2 separate regions of the Homo sapiens genome follow, and region 1 is linked to region 2. Evidence: promoter capture Hi-C in human tissues and cell types (Jung and others, 2019). All regions are on one chromosome and are shown on one strand. The core of a region is centred on a gene start or on the middle of the fragment in contact, and the rest is flanking DNA. Distances in the headings are between cores, read along the strand shown. Region 1 has its middle 5.6 kb from the start of CLDN8. Region 2 holds the start of KRTAP27-1 (keratin associated protein 27-1).

Region 1 (3,604 bases), core at 637-3,136, 120 kb after region 2:
TCACCTGTCTGTGTGGCTACTTGTATGCTTTTTCAAGTTGAAAAGAATAGTTGGTTAACAAGTTTAACCAATGACAGAGTTAATTGACTCAGCAGTTCTTTCTTCCACTAGCCCCTCAGTTTTGTGGATGTAAAATTACAAAGAAAAGAAACTATGCCTCATATTTCTTGGTTTCCAGAGTCTATCACAGGGCCTGGTACATAGTATACTTGTTGAACGGTTGGAAAATAAGTGTTCAGAAGATGTTTTATGAGACATCGTCTTGAAAATTTTACAGAAAGTACAAAATCTCTATAAATATTTGAGATGAGGAGTTGAATAACTTTTAGTTTTACTCATATTCTCATTGAAAAAATTTTAGTGCATCCAGCATATTATTATAGATTGTAATATTTTCTCTTAAAAAAATAACTGAAACCCAAGAATGCCATGAGCTGCTTGTTCCAATAATATTCTCACCCAGTGCCATGTAAAGTTGGTTTTAAGTAAGGCACTTAATGTCTAGCCCTATTAAAATTTGCAAACACTGGTTGCCTAAGGCAGACAGAATCTTAATTTGAATTTTAAGTGGAAAGTTAATTGTTTTGCAAATTAATCAGTAATGTGGCTTAGCTCTATTTGCCCAGTTAATTACTTTTCCCTGTCCTGTTCCCTGTCCTGTTAACTTCAACTTTACAAGGGAAATTGTTTCTTGTGCTCCTATATTCATTGTTTGCTTATAAGGACATTTTGTGTGTGTGTGTATGTGTGTGTGTGTGCACCCTTGTATGTGTTTTCCATTTGTGTGGACTTTTCCCTTATATCTTATGATTTCCCTCATATCTTATGATTTCTCATATTAAACAATGCATGTTGCTGCAGAAAATGGAAACACTTCATTTCTCCTTATAATGCTCAAAATCCTATTGAAAATTCACAATGTGAAGGACATTGTTTCAGAGAACTCCTTCTGATCTACCAAAACTTATATGCTTTATAAGAGATAAAACTACACATTGACACAAGCTTTCAATTAGGTTTACAGGTAGGTCTATAATGACTTGTAGCACATAGTGGGTCAAGAGTGTAGCCTCAGGTGTTTGACAGAATAGAGTTCCCATATTGGCTTTTTTTACCAGTTTGTTGTGAGGATTTGGGTCAGTTATTTAAACTTTGTAAATTCCAGTTTCCTAGTAAAACTGACATAATAAAGGGCTTTTCTAATAAGGGCGTTGGGAGGCTGAAATCATATGGTTAACTAATATGATATCACTTAATCTTAATTGTTCATATAACTTAGTAATTATTAAGTAGTTCTTATGACTAGGATTAAGTAATATTTATTAAAATATATTATTTTAAGCATAGTCATATTAAATATATTATCTATTATCCTATGTGCCTTTTCTCTTCTCTTCCTTTTTATAATTAACATGACTTAAACTTGTGAATTGCTGTGGATTCAAAATAAAATTATGAAAAGTGCTCTGTTTTGGTCCTGTTCATTATCTGATGTTATCATTTTTAGTACTAATTACAGTCTCTGCCTGGCCAGAAACTTTTGTCATGGACCGTTTGTTCTCCTCATTCAATGCTTCATATGCTTTACATTTCAGTAGAAAGGATTATTATGGGAGATTAAGGGATTTTTTTAAAAAATTTGTTTTTCAAGCAATTCCAAAAATAACCATGTGGAAAACAGTTTTATACAACTTAAAAATGTTTTTTTTTTTTTAATTTTAGCGTTTGGAAAAGGTAAAAAGAAAAGTTGTTAGTGAGTCACCTGAAAAAGCAATTTTAATGGACTAATGAAGGTAACCATAGAATCATTCCTCTGTTGGTCACTAAGAAGTCCCTATAAAATACAAAGGAAAGTTTCTCTGTATTATAATTAGCTGAGGGCACAGACACATGTAACTGTTCACTTTCATTGCATTGAAATAGTTTAATGCTTACTTTAGCCAAATACTTGTTCAGTGGTGGTTAGGTCATTCAGTATCACGACCTAGTCTGTAATTAAGGAATCACGAAGATGGGGACAAGCATGGGAAGTGAAGGAAAAAGGGGTGCCACTGGTACCTTCAGCACAGGGAACTCTCTCAAATTCTAAACAAGGAATAATTTTATTGAAATTGCCAATATTTCCCCAGTAGAAACTCCTTTGAATAGAGTATCTAAAGAGGTAGATTTCAAATTTCAGTGAAGCAGGTATGTTTTAAAAATTGCGAAGGTTGGCCATGCAAAATTTTTACAACAATGTGCTAAGCAAGGACGAAAAATGTTTTGAACATATTTTATATCTTAATTAACTCTGACCATATATGCCAATGTAAGAAATTCTGTTTCCCTAGTTCTCTTTAAGGAGATGGTAGGCAATACAGAAAAGAATGTGGGCTTTAGGTCTGCTTCTGAATTCCATTTCTGTAGATTCAACCAGCAAAGTCTGTGTGGCCTTAAAAAAGGCAGTCTCTCTTGAGTTTTAATTTATTCAATTATAAAAGGAGAGTAATGACCCCTGCTTTCTAAAAATGTTTTAAGTATAAAGTAGAGTGATAAAAAGAATGTATTGTATAGAGAACATTTAATACTCAGTAGCTGCTATTACCAGCAAATTCTTTCTTTTTTAAAATTTTTCCTGAAATCATTAGAATTAGGGTATTTCACATCATCAATTCTCCATATATAAATTACTCATTAATTTATAGGAAAATTTCCACAGTATACAGTTTTGCTTTTTTCAGTTATCTCCCTGGATTTCCAGTACTTTAGTAGAGACATCAAATATATCACATGAAATACACAGACCTGTCTTTCAAAATATATCAGAATTCATCCTATACTTAGGTTTTAATTTTTTTAATGCAATGAAAAGCGAAAGAAAGGTAAAAACATGTCCATGACACTATTTCTATTATTGATTTTTTAATTCATGTTCACCATTCTTTTTTCATCTTGGAAAAATGAAATATTGATATGGGTGATATAATATGGGTGAAGTTCTTAAGCACCAGTAGACCCTTCAGAATTATGCAAATTTTATTGCTTGAATTTGTTAGTAGCTAGATGTTACAGACCGGATATTTGTGTACCCACTAAATTCATATGTTGAAATGTTAACCCCCAATGTGATGGGATTTGGAAGTGAGGTCTTTGAGAGTGAAACTTTGAGAGTTGTAGAGGAGGTCATGAAAGTGAAATCTTCATGACGGTATTAGTGTCTTTATAAGAAGAGAATGAGACTGGAGCTCACACTTTCTCCCTGCTATGTGAAGTCATCTCATAAAGACAGCTTTCTATAAACTGAGAAGTGGGTCCTCACCGGAACCCAGTGACACTGGCACCCTGATCTGGGACTTCAGAAGAATGAGAAATAAATTTCCATTGTTCAAGCCACTTGGTCTGTGGTATTTTGTTAAAGCAGCTTGAATTGGCTAAGATACTAGGCAATTTCTATGCAGTAAGGAGTTCATTTTTAAGCAGAGCAACTGAAAATAGATCACACAGAGGTGGTGAAAAGAGCGGTTGGGCATGGTGACTCACACCTGTAATCCCAACACTTTGGGAGGCTGAGGTGGGCAGATCACTTTAGGTCAGGGGTTCGAGACCAGCCTGGCCAACATGGTGA
Region 2 (3,848 bases), core at 1-2,500:
GATCTTTAAACATACAAGTGTGGTTATTCAAAATTATAAATGACTTGCGTGTGTTACAAAGGTATTGTATACAAGATGAGTGTGCAGCCTATAAAGCTGAAAGTATTCAGATGTGCCCTTTTAAATTTATAATATCCTCAGTCTTTCAAGGAAGTGTTTGCATAAGAATTACTGAGAATTGCTGAATGTTCTTGGGCTTCTTCAGACCTTAGAAAGGGAGTCTAGTTAGTGCACTAAGACTATACTTCTATTTTATTGTCATTAGCTGAGCCAAATATATTATAGAATATGTTATAGAAATTGTGCTGGTTGGCTCTGTGCCATGAGTATGAAACTATGCTAAGAACGGTGTCCTAATGCGATAAACATAGGAACTGATCATCTGTCTGCAGTCAATAAAAAAAGCACAGAATAAAGATGAAAAATATCTGAAGAAGGTTCATTATAAAGGAAAATAATCAACCTTTGAGAAGCACAAACACAAGTAAACACACCACTTTGTCAAGTATAGAAAAAAGGAATTAAATCCATTAGTAATTCAGAAAAGGAAGAAATAACTCCTAAATGGGAAGATTGGGGAAGACTTCAGGAAAAGGACGCATTTAAACTTGGCTTTCAAGGAGATTAGGGAAACGAAATGTTAGGCAAAAGACAAGTATTTATTGGGCAATGGCCACACTCAGTACTTTGCATGAACACTGAGAAGGAATGTGATCACAAAGTCCTCTCACATTCTGGTCCACTGGAGAGAACAATATCTGAGTGGAATGAGATTGGGCTCAACCTGGATCCAATTCTAACTTTAAATGTCTTGAACATCAAATTACCACATTCTGCTACATTGGCAGCTCTCAAAACCAGTGCTAAATGTTAATCAGTATTCAGTTGGCCACTGCCTCATGCATTTCTCATTGTCCACTTACCAATGTGCAGAGTCATGGTGGCAAAAAAAAAAAAAAATGTTAGCTTGGTTGGACAGGTTTAGACTCTTATTTGACCAACCCCACCTTGAATGAGTCATCTTTGGAGCTAACATAAAAGCCATTTTGAAGATTCAAAATGGACTTACATCTTTGTTAATAAGACATCATCTGCATATATAACCAAAGTGGTAATGAGATGTTATCCTTCAAATTAGTTTAAGCAATGAGTTGCAAAGAAGTCTTGAGAAGCCAACACCCAGGTTTCTGAGTATATAATCGCCGCACCAAAGAATTTAATTTTCAAACTCAGCATGTTGAGTCCTTATGACCATCTTTAAGGATTTTTAGCAATATGCCTCATAGCCACTGCCATTCACTCAGGAGCTTCCACAATGCCCCACCACTCTCTGCCATCACACATGGCACTAATCCTATAACCTTTGAAGACAGATTGTGTTTGCCCAGCAGCTTCCATAGCAGAACCTGTTTCCTGGACAACTTTCAAGAAACCTGCAATGAAACCACCAGCTGCCAAATGACCAATTGTGAACAGGACTTATTCACAGACGATAGCTGTGTGCAAAGTAACTGCTTCCCCGGAGTTGTCCAAACTACTTACTCCAATTCCAGGCCCTGCGAAAGGACAGCGTGCCAATCAGAAAGTTCTTCAGCAGGGCTGGCTTGTGTTTCTCAGCCTTGCCAATCAGAAAGCACTCAGCAGATGGGTTTTGTAGCCCAGAGCTGCCAACCTGCAAGCCTCAAGGGAAACAGTTGCCCACCCAAGACTTCTAAGTCTAAAAATTTCGAAACTCTGGAACGTGCATCTAGCCAATGTCAGTGTCAGTCTCAGAACCCTGAATCCAGTTCCTGTAGACCTCTGGTCAATGTTGCACCTGAGCCACAACTCCTGGAATCTTCTCCAGGAGTTGAACCAACTTGCTGTGTTACTGGTGGTTCTCAATTGCCTAGTAAGTGAAGATCTGTAGGGGAGATGGCTTATATTCTCATTTGGATGAATTTATTTTTGAGATACTTAGATATTTTGTATTTCTTTAAATAAAAAATGTTGTGTGTGTTTGTTAGTAAATGAACATGTCTTATTTTACTACTGTCTCCAAAGACAAGATTTTTTTTCTTGTTTTTCTTTTGGGTATGTCTAGTGGTAATCTGGGGTTGGAAAGCATGCTAGCTATTTTAGAGCAGTAGGATACGATTTGTTATTAAGCAATAAGAGCTGTAGCCAGGAAATAACATGAATACTTAAAGGAAACATCACACTTTAACTGCAAGTTGTTTTCTTTGGAAATACTTAGCATTGGATCTGGTTTATTAAGTAATGTGCTACTAGTCTCAGAAATTCATAAAATATTGGAACCAAACCTAAAAGCCTACCTAGTCCTGTGAATTACGATAGGTTCAACTCTATCAGAGGTTGCCCAAGTAGTTAATAACATCAGAACCACAACTAAAATCCAGGCCTACTCACTGGCCATCTGTTATTTTAGCCATTGAATCACAACATTCTCAAATTAACTAGAAGATTAAGTCTATTGTTCGAATAGAGCAAGGTAATTTTGAATTTCACCTCCATGGGCTTTATAACCACGTAGCAACCAGAAGCCTTTAAATAGAATGAATTGAAGTTTAGAATCTTCACTTCATTTCGTTCCCGTTGTTTTTTTGGTTGTTTGTTTTTTTCCTGTTTTCATTATTTCTTAAGTATTTTTTGAGTTTGGAAAATATTCTTTGTATTAAATAAATTTGCTTTCTTTGGAAGCAAAATTTGGACTTGTCACACTATTATTTTTATTCAATCCTTTTGCAGGTGTTATGTTACAGGCTTTTTGTTTCTTCGTTTGTTACCTAATGAAAATAGTATAAATATTTAGAAGAAAAGAGAACATATCCTCTTGTTATAATTTTTATAGTGTGAACCAGAAAAGAATAACTCATGGTGGTAGTCAACAGAAGATGGAAAATATACTCATATGAACATCATAAGACCATAGAGTCAGATGTTTGAAATTGATTAATTTTATTTAGGTAGCTTAGCTATTCTGAAACTTTTGGTGTGTTCTTAAATTGATCTTTCAATTTTTTTTTTTTTTTTTGAGATGGAGTCTCGCTATGTCACCCAGGCTGGAGTGCAGTGGCGCAATCTCGGCTCACTGCAAGCTCTGCTTCCTGGGTTCACGCCATTCTCCTGCCTCAGACTCCCGAGTAGCTGGGACTACAGGTGCCTGCCACCATGCCCGGCTAATTTTTTGTATTTGTAGTAGAAACGGGTTTCACCACATTAGCCAGGATGGTCTCAATCTCCTGACCTCGTGATCCGCCTGCCTCGGCCTCCCAAAGTGCTGGGATTACAGGCGTGAGCCACCATGCCTGGCCTTGGATCTCACATTTTTTCAGGGCAAAATAAGGTAGTGGTTGAGAGCATGAACTCTGAATATGGATTTCCTTGAGCTGGAATCTTAGCTTTGCTTAGTGATGGCTGTTTAAGTTCCAACTGTGTGACTGTGTGCAAGTTATTTAACCACCTCAGTTTCTTCAACTTCAAAAGTGAAGGATAATAATAGGGCTACTGTGAGCCTTAATAAGTTAATAAATTGAAAGTGTAAGGCTTAAAAAATTACCATGTATATAGCATATTTAGCAACTCAGCTAGCTCAGAGACTTGGTATGGGGGAGGTAGTGGGGATTTGTAAATAAACCCAGAAATCCATGAGAGATTAGGAAAGCTAGTCATCCAACAAAAGAGAGATTAGCTGTTTTGTATTTTGGAAGATGCAGGCAGCATCATCTACTAAGGGAGAAAATTAAGAAACTTAAACGCTGTCTAGTTGAAGTAAATTGGCAAGTATCTCTGAATCTATGGCAAACCTAATGCTACTGATAATTTACCAGTTAGTTCTGAGGGTGGGT

Evidence for each region. The method cuts DNA at HindIII sites, captures the fragments that hold promoters and counts their contacts. A contact is called where the count stands out against the background at its distance.
Region 1: a contact is called between a fragment that was not itself captured here and the fragment with the promoter of KRTAP27-1 in region 2, in 3 of the 25 tissues and cell types used here (heart right ventricle, ovary and small bowel).

What each region holds. Positions count from the first base shown.
Region 1 is chr21:30,219,892-30,223,495 of GRCh38, reverse strand. No RefSeq gene overlaps it. Among named protein-coding and RNA genes, the nearest start is that of CLDN8, 5.6 kb to the right of the region's middle. The HindIII fragment of the contact is 8,230 bases long and covers 1-3,604 here.
Region 2 is chr21:30,335,096-30,338,943 of GRCh38, reverse strand. KRTAP27-1 (keratin associated protein 27-1) reads left to right here and starts at 1,250. Exons shown (of 1, transcript NM_001077711.1): 1 at 1,250-1,931. The coding sequence starts at 1,276. The coding sequence ends at 1,899. The HindIII fragment of the contact is 14,979 bases long and covers 1-3,848 here.